Regions from separate parts of the Homo sapiens genome. Here region 1 is linked to region 2. The links are contacts of gene promoters, found by promoter capture Hi-C in blood cells and fetal thymus (Javierre and others, 2016). All regions are on one chromosome and are shown on one strand. The core of a region is centred on a gene start or on the middle of the fragment in contact, and the rest is flanking DNA. Distances in the headings are between cores, read along the strand shown. Region 1 holds the start of ECHDC2 (enoyl-CoA hydratase domain containing 2). Region 2 holds the start of CC2D1B (coiled-coil and C2 domain containing 1B).

What was found. Contacts are between HindIII fragments. The CHiCAGO score rates a contact against its expected background, and 5 or more counts as called.
Region 1: a fragment that was not itself captured here is called in contact with the fragment with the promoter of CC2D1B in region 2 in 1 of 17 cell types (naive CD4 T cells); the score reaches 6.4 in naive CD4 T cells.

The regions. Positions count from the first base shown.
Region 1 is chr1:52,919,958-52,926,387 of GRCh38, reverse strand. ECHDC2 (enoyl-CoA hydratase domain containing 2) reads left to right here and starts at 4,648. Exons shown (of 10, transcript NM_001198961.2): 1 at 4,648-4,835. The coding sequence starts at 4,715. It also overlaps the pseudogene LOC112268226 and the pseudogene LOC100652967. RefSeq lists silencers at 4,672-4,901, 4,750-4,928 and an enhancer at 4,263-4,945. The HindIII fragment of the contact is 2,507 bases long and covers 1,115-3,621 here.
Region 2 is chr1:52,364,852-52,371,237 of GRCh38, reverse strand. It overlaps CC2D1B (coiled-coil and C2 domain containing 1B), which reads left to right and starts at 5,033. Exons shown (of 25, transcript NM_001330585.2): 1 at 5,033-5,169. It also overlaps the pseudogene PLA2G12AP1. RefSeq lists silencers at 2,432-2,511, 2,572-2,671, 4,654-5,283, 5,324-5,433 and an enhancer at 2,792-2,841. The HindIII fragment of the contact is 5,331 bases long and covers 4,437-6,386 here.

The sequences.
Region 1 (6,430 bases), core at 1,119-3,618, 560 kb before region 2:
CACATGTGAAGGTTGATCAAAGACTCAGAAGAATGCAACCGTTTGCCTCTTATCTACCCACATCTTTTTAAAATTTATTCATCTTTCCCCAATATCTGCCCCTTCCCCTATAAAAACTGAAGCCCTCAAAATCATCTTTGGAGAAAGGCACGGACCTGTCTCCAAAGATGATGCACGTCCTTAAACTTGGCAAAATTAACTTCTAAATTAATTGAGATCCGTTTCATATACTTTTCGGTTTGCAGTATCAGCATTTAGAAAGGCTCTCCTAGAAGATTCTAAGGATTGCTTCTTGGCCATTTGGCTAAGATCAAGTTTAGGAGATTCTAAGAAGCCCCCTCTGTGCTAAGTAAAGAACTACTGAGCTAGGACTAGACCAACTTAGTAAAATTGCTGCGCTCAGTGATGCACGCCTCCCATCTGCTCAGGAGGCTTCGGCAGAAAGATCACTTGAGCCTGGGAATTCAAGGCTACAAATGTGCTATGATTACACCTCTGAATAGCCACTGCACTCCAGCCTGGGCAACATACCAAGACCACGTCTCTAAAAAACCAAAACGAAACAAAAAAAAAAAAAAAAGAAAAACAAACACAAATCAGGGCACTGACATGTACAGTTGTTTCTTGAAACTGATGGACTGACAAGACAGCAATATGATTGGTGGATCAGACAAAGTTACCAACCTAATAGAACAACAAGTCCTAAGGTCAAGATTAATTGTTATGTAACAAATCCTGGCTGTCCACTGGATATTGCTTTCAAAATAAGAGTCCATAGAGGGCAGAGGGGATAGATAGTAATATAAAAGGTATTTGTTAATACCGAAAAGACTGAGAAAAAACACTTCCCTTTCCAATGTGAAGGACTAAATAATCCAAACTTTTCCCACTATAAAACACAGACTTTTCTAAGTCATTGGATGTGGGGCTCTGGGGTAGCCTGAGCTGTTTGTCCCACACCAAGATGCTTCAAAACATTATTAAAAATGTTTGGATCCCCATGAAGCCCTATTATAACCAAGTTTATCAGGAGATTTGAGTAGGAATGGGGTTAATGAGCCTCATCATTTATAAAATCAGGAGTACTGATAAAATAAGTAAAATATTGAAAGCTTCTCCACCTGCTTATGGTCATCACTAACCAGCTTCACTTAGCATGCACATGAAATGAAACATTAGTCGACCTGTGAATTTAAGCAAGCTATGTTAGAAAGGAACCTGGAAAATCACTGTACACTTATATAAGTACCACTTACTTTGTGGCATGAATAAGTATACCAAAAAAAAACACCCAGAAATGCCAGATAAAATACAATAAATATCATTTTAAGCTGGGTGTGGTGGTACGAGACTGTAATCCCATCTACTTGAGGAGCTGAGGCAGAAAGGCTGCTTGAGTCCAGGAGTTCAAGGCTGCAGTGAGCTACGATTATGCCTGTGAATAGCCACTGCACTCCAGCCTGGACAGCATAGTGAGACCTTTTCTGTTAATACAAAAAGACAAAAAGCAGCGAGGCACAGTGGCTCATGCCTGTAATCCCAGCACTTTGGGAGGCCAAAATGGGAGGATTGATTGAGCCCAAGAATTCAAGACCAACCTGGGCAACATAGCTCCCTATCTCTAAAAAAAAAGAAGAAAAAACAAGAAAAATCTTTTTAAATGGGTGGATGCCAGGCATGGGGGCTCACACCTGTAATCCCAGCACTTTGGGAGGCTGAGGTGGGAGGATCACTTGAGGCCAGGTGTTTGAGACCAGCCTGGCAACATAGGGAGACCTCTGTCTCTACAAAAAATTTAACAATGAGCCAAGTGTGGTGGCCCACTCCTGTAGTCCCAGCTACTCGGAAGGCTGAGACGGGAGGATCCCCTGAGCCCAGGAGTCTGAGGTTGTAGTGAACTGACTGCACCACTGTACTCCAATGTGGGCAACAGAGTGAGACCCTGTCTCAATAAAATAGAATACAATAAATGCATGGAATATGGAGGAGGGAAGGTTTTTCTTTTAATCTTATACCCAATTATAGTTTGTATGTTTTGTTTTTGCTTCTTTTTTTTTTTTAAGACAGAATCTCACTCTGTTGCCCAGGTTGGAGTGCAGTGGTGTGATCTCAGCTCACTACAACCTCCACCTCCTGGGTTCAAGCGATTCTTGCACCTCAGCCTCCTGAGTAGCTGGGATTACAGCTGCCCACAACCACGCCTGGCTAATTTTTGTATTTTTAGTAGAGACAGGGTTTCACCATGTTGGCCAGGCTGGTCTTGAACTCCTGACCTCAGGTGACCCACCCACCTCAGCCTCCTAAAGTGCTGGGATTACAGGCATGAGCCACCGGGCCTGGCTAGTTTGTATGTTTTGATTTTGTGTATATATTAGTTTTATTTTTGCTAAGGCATGTTTTTAATTTTTGTTATTGTGCTTTGTTTTCATTTTCATTATTTATTTTGAGTAAGTTATACTTAAAACAAAAATCAAGATTCAAAAAGTATAAAAGGGGCCAGGCATGGTGGTTCACACCTGTAATCCCAGCACTTTGGAAGGCCAAGGTGGACAAATCGCCTGAGCTCAGGAGTTCGAGACCAACCTTGGCAACATGGCAAAACCCCGTCTCTACAAGAAATACAAAAATTAGCCAATGTTGTGGCATGTACCTGTGGTCCCAGCTACTCAGGAGGGTGAGGTGGAAGGATCACCTGAGCCCGGGAGGCAGAAGCTGCAGTGAGCCAAGATACTGCCACTGCACTCCAATCTGGGCAACAACAACATCCTGTGTCCAAAAACGTATAACAGGTCAAACCGTAAAACTTGTCTCTCTTACCCTTATTCCCAGCCTCTCGGTTCTTCTTCCCTATCCTTCCAAAGATGTTTTATGTAAATACAATCAAATATACACATGCATACTCTTATCCCCCTTGTTAACACAAATTTTTGTTTTCTTTATTATTTCTTTCAATAGAGGTGGGGTTTTGCTATGTTGGCTAGGTTGGTCTTGAACTCCTGGCCTCAAGCAATCCTCCTGTCTCGGCCTCCCAAAGTGCTAGGTTCATGAGCATGAGCCACCAGACCCGGCCAAATTTTAGCTTTCTTTACACACTATTCTGCATTTTGACTTGTTTCATATACCAATAGATTTTGAAGATTGTTTCATATCAATGCATAAACAGTTTCCTGTGTTTTGTTATAGCTGCATAGTATTCAGATTATTGATGTACCTTTTTTTTTTTTTTAAGTAGAGATAGGGGCTTGCTATATTTCCCAGGCTGGTTTCAAACTCCTGGCTTCCAGGGACCTACCTGCCTTGGCCTTCCAAAGTGTTGGAATAATAGGGTGAGCCACCACACACAGCCCCATAATTTATTTAACCAACCCTCTATTGATGGATATTGAGACTGTGATATAGTTTGGGTGTTGGATCCCTCCAAATCTCACGTTGAAATATGATTCCCAATGTTGGAGGTGGGCCCTGTTGGGAGGTGACTGGATCATGGGGACAGATCCCTTGTGAATGGTTTAGCACCATCCCCTTGGCGATAAACTGGGACCTCCCCACCTAATTTTCTTGTTCCTATTCTCGCCATGTGACATGCTGGATCCCTGTCACCTTCAGCCATGATTGTAAGCTTCCTGAGGCCTCACCAGAAGCACATGACAGCACCATGTGCTTCCAGTCTTTTGCTATTATAAACAATGCTGCAATGTACAGCCATGAACACGTGTCATTTCACAGCTGTGTGGATTTATCTGTAGGTTAAATTTCTAAAATTGGAATTTCTGGGGCAATGAGCTTGTGCATTTATAATTTTGATATAAATTACCAGTTGCTTTTCATTTAAAGACATTCACATCAGCAATGTGAGAGTGCTTTGTATATACTGTGTTTAAGAGAATAATTTTTTTTTTTGGGACGCAGTTTCGCTCATTGCCCAGCCTGGAGTGCAGTGGCGCGATCTCAGCTCACTGAACCTGTGCCTTCCGAGTTCAAGTGATTCTCCTGCCTCAGCCTCCCAAGTAGCTGGGATTACAGGCGCCCGCCACCACGCCCAGCTAATTTTTTTGAATGTTTAACAGAGACAGGGTTTCGTCATGGTGAAACCCTGCCTCTACTAAAAATACAAAAAAAATTAGTTGGGCGTGGTGGCGCGTCCCTGTAATCCCAGCTACTTGGGAGGTTGAGGCAGGAGAATCGCTTGAACCCGGAGGCGGAGGTTACAGTGAGCCAAGATCAAGGCACAGCACTCCAACCTGGGCGACACAGCGAGACTCCGTCTCAAAAAAAAAAAAAAAAAAAAAAAGTGAGGCGCAAATGGGAGGTGAAGCAGTGAGGTTCGCAAGTGTAGACACGCTCAAGGGACTCATTAAATGTCATTTCATTTAAAAAATGAAATTGAGCATATGTGCAAGCAAGGTTCACACACCCCATTTAATCTTCACACCACCACGGGGTAGTCACTATTATCCCCATTTTACAGGATTAAAACACTGACGCTGGGAGGTTGACAGAGTTACACCAAATCACACAGAGGAGCTGGGCTTCCCCCGACCTCCTCCGCTCAAGTCTCCCTGTCCCCGGGAGGTGCGGAAGGAGGCAACAGACGCTTGGCCCATAGGTGGAGCAATTGGCGAAGGCTTCGCCCGACGCCGGAACTGCGAGCTCTCAGCGGGAGCCGAGACGGTGCAGGGCCGGAGAAGCACCTTCACTCCCAGCCTGCGCCCCGATGCTGCGCGTTCTGTGCCTCCTGCGCCCCTGGAGGCCCCTTCGGGCCCGCGGCTGCGCTTCCGACGGGGCGGCCGGGGGCTCAGAGATCCAAGTGCGCGCCCTGGCGGGTCCGGACCAAGGTAAATGTGCAGTTCCGGGGCGGCGCATGACGCGACTGGGACTAGGCCGGAGGCAGCGGGGGACCGGCAGGTGGGCCGCTCAGTGCGTTGAAGGATTCGATCCCCAGTCCCTCCCTCCCAGTTCTAGGCGCCCCAAACCGCTCCAGGCCTGAGAGGTGGGCGGCCGCCTTAGTGGCTCCAGACTCTAGCTGGGGGCGGGGGGCCTCTGGCAACCTCGGTCTCTTCAAAGGCCCTTTGGGGTCTTCCGACTGTGTGGAAGGGGGAGCGGGGTCCGCACGGGTAGGACTGGGCCCCGCGGCCCCCAGGCCAGGAGCGTTTAAGTGCGCGTTCCCCTCCCCCGCCAAGGGTCCTGGCCCGGTTCGGGGGCGGAGGCAGCGGAGCCAGTCCCAGTGCCCAGTGCGGCAGCGGGCAGAGTGAGGAGGGTGCCTCTCCAGCCGCGCGCCCGCCCTGGGCCGCTAGCGAACCTTTGCGTCCTTCTGGCTCCAGGGAAAAGTTCGCTGTTTCTCCGCCTTTTGGCCAAGATCAAGGATAGTATGGAGCGGGGACGAGGGGTGGGGGGCAAAGTTCGCGGGTCACTGGCAGAAAACGCCTCTGATCGCGTGTTGCGTTTTTGTTGTTGTTGTTGTTTGAACTTCTGGAGCATTCAGTGGTGCTGATAACGCTCCTCAGTCCTCTGCTGGTAACCATCAGGGCTAGGCGCTTCTCCTGCCTTGGGTCTCCTCCCCGCATCTCATCCCCTGTCTCCTGCATTTGATACACAGATGGCATTGTACTGTACATTTCGTTGTATTGCTTCTTTTTTTTTTTTAACAAAAGTTTATTCTTAAATGTACAACAGCTCCAAGACAACACTTAATTCCAGCCATAGGTGGCAAAAGATGTTATGGCAGGGAATAGAGAGGTTTAAATACTGATGAAATAAAGGGTCACCATCTCCTTAGGCACAGGGAACAGCTTACTTTTTGCCAGATTTCTTAATTCCACTTGTGGCCAAGGGCCCCTTCCCCGTGGCCTTCCATTTTAGCTCCTCGAGTTTCTTCTGCTCCTCTTTTTGTTTCTGCTTGAAAGCCTTATCTTCCTCGTCCATCTCCTTGGCCTGCATTCTTGGGCTGTTTCAGTGGCTTCTTGCCACCTTCGTGGCCGGACATGGCGCCTGCCGCCCCTTCCCCAGCAGTATTGCTTCCTTTTTACCGGCTTGACAACAAGTTTGAAGCGGGGCTTTGCCATAAAATCCAGTTCCTTGCTCCCTGCTGTTGCCCACTGTTCCCAAGTGTGCATCTACCACCTTCAGTGGACACGGACAGGCCACCTAGAGTCCCACTGCACCACTTGGTGAGAATTTCCTTGAACAGTTAATATTGCTGAACCTTATACCCCCAATCTCATGCTTAGTTCACTACCCAACTGGCAACAGCTCTTAAGACAGTCAAGATTATTCTCCCCACTTTACAGATTAAAAAACTGAGGCACAGAAGGTTAAGTTATTTGAACCAGGTCTGATTTCAAAGCCTGTGTTCTCAACCATTAGGTAATCACTGGCTCTTCTAGTAATTCAGTGACTCAAAATACAGACTTGTACATGTGTAAACACAAAA
Region 2 (6,386 bases), core at 3,784-6,283:
AGAAAAAAAACACAAAACATGGAGGAACTATTCTACACCAAAGGAGAATAGAGACATGAGAGCTAAATGCACTATATAAACCTTGACTGGGTCCTGGATTTAGGAAATATAAACAATTATAAACATTATTAACTATGTATTAGACAGAAGTATTTTGTAAGTGTTAAATTCCCCGAGCGTGATAAATTTGTGATTATGTAGGAGAATGCTGTTCTTAGGAGATTCATAATGAAATATTTATAAGTGATGTATTATGTCTGCAACTCATTCTCAAATCATTTAGCAAAAATATGTATTTCTATATTCACATATGTATTTATAATTACATATAATGGATTGAGGATCAATATCAATATTTTTAAAACTGCAATGAAAAAGAAAAAATGAGCCAGGCACAGTGGTTCATACCTGTAATCCCAGCATTTTGGGAGGCCAAGGCAGGTAGATCACCTGAGGTCAGGAATTCGAGACCAGCTCGGCCAACATGGTGAAGCCCCATCTCTACTAAAAATACAAAAATTAGCCAGGGGTGATGGTGTGCACCTGTAATCTCAGCTACAGGGGTGCTGAGGCAAAAGAATTGCTTGAACCCAGGAGGCAGAGGTTGCAGTGAGCCAAGATTGTGCCACTGCATTCCAGCCTGGGCAACAGAGCAAGACTGTCTCAGAAAAAAAAAAGAAGGAAAAAGAAAAAAATGGGTAAATAACAAATAAGTCATCCAAAGAAGAAACACGAATGACCAAGAAAATGGAAACAGTAAAAGAGGCATGCAAACCAAAACCATTTCACATCTATTAGAAAACCTTTCTATGGTTACACAGAACAACTGGGACCCCAATACCCTGCTGATGGAGGTGGAATGACTTTTGAAGATTATTTGGTGAATCTTAGCCTAGGAAATGCAAGAAATTGTATGAGCCAGTGTATTAGTCTGTCCTCGCGCTATGAAGAAATACCTGAGACTGCGTAATTTATAAAGAAAAGAGGTTTAATTGACTCACAGTTCCACATGGCTGGGGAGCCCTCAGGAAACTTAAAATCATGGTGAAAGGCACCTCTTCACAGGGCAGCAGGAGAGAGAATGAGTGCCAGCAGGGGAAATGCCAGATGCTTATAAAACCATCAGATCTCGTGAGAACTCACTCCTATCACAAGAACAGCATGAAGGAAACCATGATTCAATTACCTCCCACAAGATGCCTCCCAGGACACATGGGGATTATGGGATTACTATTCAAGATGAGATTTGGGTGGGAACACAGAGCCAAACCATATCAGCCAGTGTGATGGTTAATAGAGCATGCAGACAGCCTATTGTGGGACTATATATATATATACACATATATATATATACACACATATATATACACACACACACACATATATATATACACACACACACACACATATATATATATATATATCCTATTAGTTCTGTTCCTCTAGAGAAACCTGACTAATGCAGCCAGCAATTCCATTCCTAAGTATATGCTCTAGAGAAATTCACATACGTACACCAAGAGTCATATACAAAAAGTTCATAGCACTCTATAATGGTAAGCCATTGGGAAAGTGACTTATTTTCATGCTATGGAATCATAACAGAAATGAAAATCAGCTAACTAGATACAGTATACATGTCAATTTGAGTGAAGCTTACAAACAGGGTTGAGTAGAAAAAGGTTGAAGAATTACACTGTATGTAACCAATGATATAATTTTTAAAAGCTGGCAAAAAAAATACTATGTATTGCTTAAGGATACCTACACAGAAATAGAAATGCTCAGGAATAATAAACACTAAATTTAGGATAATGGGTACATCTTTGGGAAAGGGAGGTGTTGCAATATGGGAGATGTACAGGTAGCTCCAACTATGTTTGTTTTTCTTTTTTCACAAAAATCAGATAGTTTTATGTTGTAAAAACATTAGTTATTTGTCAAAGGTTATGTTCTTCCGTCTTCATCTGTCACCAGCTGTCAGCATCTCCTTTAAATATCGGTTTTTTCTTCATAATGACACCTGCATGTGGCTCGTTGGCTGTCCAGATATGGTTTACAACCTAAATGTATAACACTGTCAAACAAGAGCTCCATTGTTGTTTCACATGCCTGAACATGCTAAGTTAGTCCTAGTGTTTTCTGTACTTCTCGGCAGATCTTGGAGAGGCAATACTGGAATTTCTCATCACAGTCATTCTTGCTTTTGCCACAGTTCTCATAGCACCTGTCGTGTTAGTTGCAACACTTTGTCAGGGAAGGGATACCAATGTTAAGATGAACGCCAAACAGTGGAGAGCCACATCCATTCGGTGGGGAGGGTTTATAACCATAACGTGGGAAAGGCTTAGATCCGTCACTGCATTTATACTGGCAGAGACCGTCCTCGCCTCCCAGGAGGTCCAAGGCGGCGTTCAGGTACGTGTCTATCTTATGAACGCCGTTCCGGATGGTCTTCAGGGTGGCCCTCCAGTCGGTGGTCTAGGCCTGCTCCAGGCACCTGATAACAGCGGCCATGAGGAGGAGCAGGAGGGTGAGCGCGGGGCGCGGGAGAAGGGCCAACCGCGCAGCGCCGGGCTCTACGGGTCCCCGAGCCGCGGCGGGGGGCGCGTCCCCAAAGAGCCCCCGGGAAGCGCTAGGCAGCGGCGCGGGCCCCGGGGTTGCAGCCGCCAGCTCCATAACCACGCCTCCTTCCCGGCTGGCAGGCAGGGCCTCGCTGGCTTTACGTGAACCGCCTCGGGGAGGCAGCGCGGTCGCGGGGACGCGCCCGCTCACCTGCTTTTTTTTTTCCCTTAAACTGGTAATAGATGTCCATGTAGTTAATTCACACAACAAGGAACTATTGAGTGCCTACTATGTACCATGCACTGCTGTAGACACGAGACACTTGGAGAAGCAATAAAAAAATTTCTCCTTCTGGAGCTTGCATTCTAGTAAATGTTAAATATTGTGTATCTTTGTTTATATCTTAAATGTTTCATTATAAAAATTTTTAAATAATTTTAAAAGGAATGAGAAATATGGATGTGAAATCTCAATTTAAATATGGTAATGGGCAGGGCATGGTGGCTCACGCCTGTAATCCCAGCACTTTGGGAGGCTGATGTGGGTTGATCCCCTGAGCTCAGGAGTTTGAGATCAGCCTGGGCACATAGCAAAAACATGTTTCTACAAAAAAAAAAAAAAAAATGCTGGGCATGGTGGCACGTGCCTGTGGTCCCAGCTACTCAAGAGGCTGAGGTGAGAGGATTGCTTGAGCCTGGGAGGTGCAGGTTGCAGTGAGTGGAGATCGCACCACTGCACTCTAGCCTGGGTGACAGAATGAGATCCTGTCTCAAAAAAAAAAAAAAGAAAAAAAGTAAGCAATCAGGAGATGGAAAAGCCCTTTGTCCAAGTAAACTGGGAGATCGCTAACTAGAAAACATAATTTAAAAGTTCAAGGCATAGGCAGGAGAGGAGATGGCAATGTTTTAGACAGAAGAAACTAATCCAGCAGTTTAACTTTAAAATACATTTTAAAACTTTTTTTCCTTTCTCTTGGGTTTCAAGATACAACCTTGAAGCAAACTGCAAAAGCCTTTTCCCTTAGCTGTAAAATAGACCCCATATCCCTCCCTTTCTCACTGTATATACTCCCTTCACATTTATCTTACTGTATGCTAGTATTTAATTATCTGCCTTCTGAGAAGTTCCAAGGGCTAATCTTGAGACAGACAAACCAAGCCTGGAGACACAGCTGCAAAATTCCAAAGATTACTTCAAGGTGGCTAGTCAACAGCGGGGCCATTGTGGAGATGAGACCAGCCCACGCTCCAGGTAGGCTGGGACCCAAGATAGCCACCAGAACAAGACACACAGACGTTGTACTCTGTACAATTCTTGCATGCTTCCCATATCAAATTTTCCTTTTAAGCCGTTCTCTTTCCCCCCAAAATCGAAGTGGTTACTTTAGATGGGAATCTGGCCACTTCCCCATTACTCCGCTCTCGGTTTTTTTGTTTGTTTTAGTTTGAGACAGGGTCTCACCTTGTCACCCGGGTTGGAGTGCAGTTGACAGCTCATTGCAGCTTGGACCTCCGGGGCCACAGCGATTCTCCTGCCTCGGCCTCTCAGTAGGTAGGACTACAGGCACGCACCACCACACCCGGCTAATATTTGTAATTTTTTGTAGAGACAGGGTTTCGCCATGTTGCCCAGGCTGGTCTCGGACTCCTGAGCTCAATCTCTTGTTAACTGGACTCTGCAAGCCGCAGGGAGAAACGTGCTTTCCTTAGAAAACTAGACTAGAGCATATTTACTGATGCTAAAGAGGTTGGTTTTGTATTTCCCTGGGCAAATAATTCTCTCTGAGCCTCCGTTTCTTCTAGAGATGATGTCCATCTTGCAGGATTGAGAACTGGTATAAGCTCCATTATGAAAAGTGACTGACACAAGCTTGGCAGAAAACGGGTATACTCCGTTTCTCTCCTTAATATCCTCCATGCCATTTGATTGCACAGCAGGGTAGGCGAGTGAGAACTTAGTGTTAGACTCTGTAAAGTATTTAAGATGTGCAGCGAGCTCTGCCTGTCTGAAGTTTTCAACGGACCGGAAAAGGATACTTTCAGGTGCTGAATTATTAAGAAACATATGGTGGGCCCCATTTCCATTTCCCCAGGCTTAAAGGACATGGACAAGCAGGTGAGCCCCGCCCCTGTCTCTCTTCCAGGGCGGAGCTTGGGTAGGCCCCGCCCTCTTGCTCGGTGGGGCGGGGCGAGGGCTGGAGGCGGGGTAGGTCCAGCGAGCGAGCGAGCGCCCAGCGCCTCGGGCTGAGTGAGGGAGGAGGTTCGGTGGAGAGGCTGCAAGTGGGCGAGGGCTGGGCGCAGCGACCTCATTGGAGCCGGCCGGTGGACGCCCCGGCGGAACCGCCCAGAGTTCCTGTCCTGCGCTACCTACCCGAACGCGCCTGCGCGCTGCGAACCCCGCCCCGGTGTCACCTGTTGGAGCCCCCCGCCCGCGTAGCCGTGCACATGCGCACTGCCGGCCGCCGGCCAGTGGGGTCACGTGTTGCGCGCGAGCCACCTCCCCTGCTGGCGCTTCCTGTCGCTACCGCTGCGGCCCAGGGCCCGCGGGAGCCCAGGGCGGTGCCGGGTGAGACAAGGCCGGGGTTTGGCTCGGATTCACCGCGAGGTATGCCGCGTCCCCGCCCCTCGGCGTGGGGAGTTCTGGGGACCGCGGGGGTAGATGGAGGCGGCGCGGGCGGGGCAGGGCGGCGCGTCCCGCAGCGCGGGAGTGGGGGTCCCGTGTCGCCTCCCCCTACGGACTCCGTTGCCCACCTTCCGTGAGGCCTGGCTGTGTCATCGGGGCCGCAGCCTTGGAGTGTCTGGCCTCGCTTTCACCTGAGCCGGAGTCACTCCCGAAATCTGACACTCAGAGTCCCCCGGAGCGCCCGCCAGCTCCTCCGCCCGCTCCCCGCCGCCTCCACGCCCGTCAGCTGGTCTCCCCGCCAGCGCTGTGGCGAGATGCGCCGGCTTCCTGCCTTTTCCCCCTACCTTCTGTGCACCTCCCCTTTGGTGCCAGAATGGGGTTTCTGAAACACCGATACGATCCCGCCACTTCTTTCCCAGCGCCCTCAGAATAATGCCCAAACGCTTTTCGGCTTAGAGGTTTTCATATTCTGCCGCTTGCTCACATTTCCACCTCGGCTTGTGCATTCAGGCCTCACCGCTTATGCCCCAGTCATACCAGGCCTCAGGTTCCATTGTACAGGCCAAGCTGCTCCCCACTTCAGAGCCGTCAAGTGTTCCCTCGTCTTGGAATCCTATTTCCCTCTTTCCCCCAACTTCTTTGCGTGACTCAGCTCAGGCGTCACCGCCTCGAAGGAGGAGCCTTTTCTCCCAGGGCTGAAGAAGGGGTCACCTCAGGGCACCCATGGCCCCTGGGGCAACCCCGTGTAGTCCACCTCCACCCTGTAAATGGTCATTGAAGGCTGAGACCGTCTTAGGTTCATTTCTGCGCTCCCAGTGCCCAGCGCAAGGTCTGACACAGGAGGTCCTGTGAATAACTGTGAGATCTTTATGGGAATCAGAATGCTGAGCCAGCTTTCTCCAGAGCTCAGCTGTGAGATGGAACTTTGATGACATGTCCTTGGATGATGAAAATGTTCTGTGTGTGTGCTGTCTGGTCATAGCCCCTCACCACATATGGCTGTTAAGCACTTGGAATGTGTCTGTTGTGGCTGATGGACTGGATTTTTAGCTTTATTTCATTTTAATTCATTGAAATTTAAAATTAAATAGCCAGCTGTGGCTTCCATAAGCACAGCTTTAGAGCCTTTCTGAATTCTACCCAGCCTTCCACCCACCCTGAACCTAGAGTACTTCCCTGAATGTGCTTTTTAAATTTGA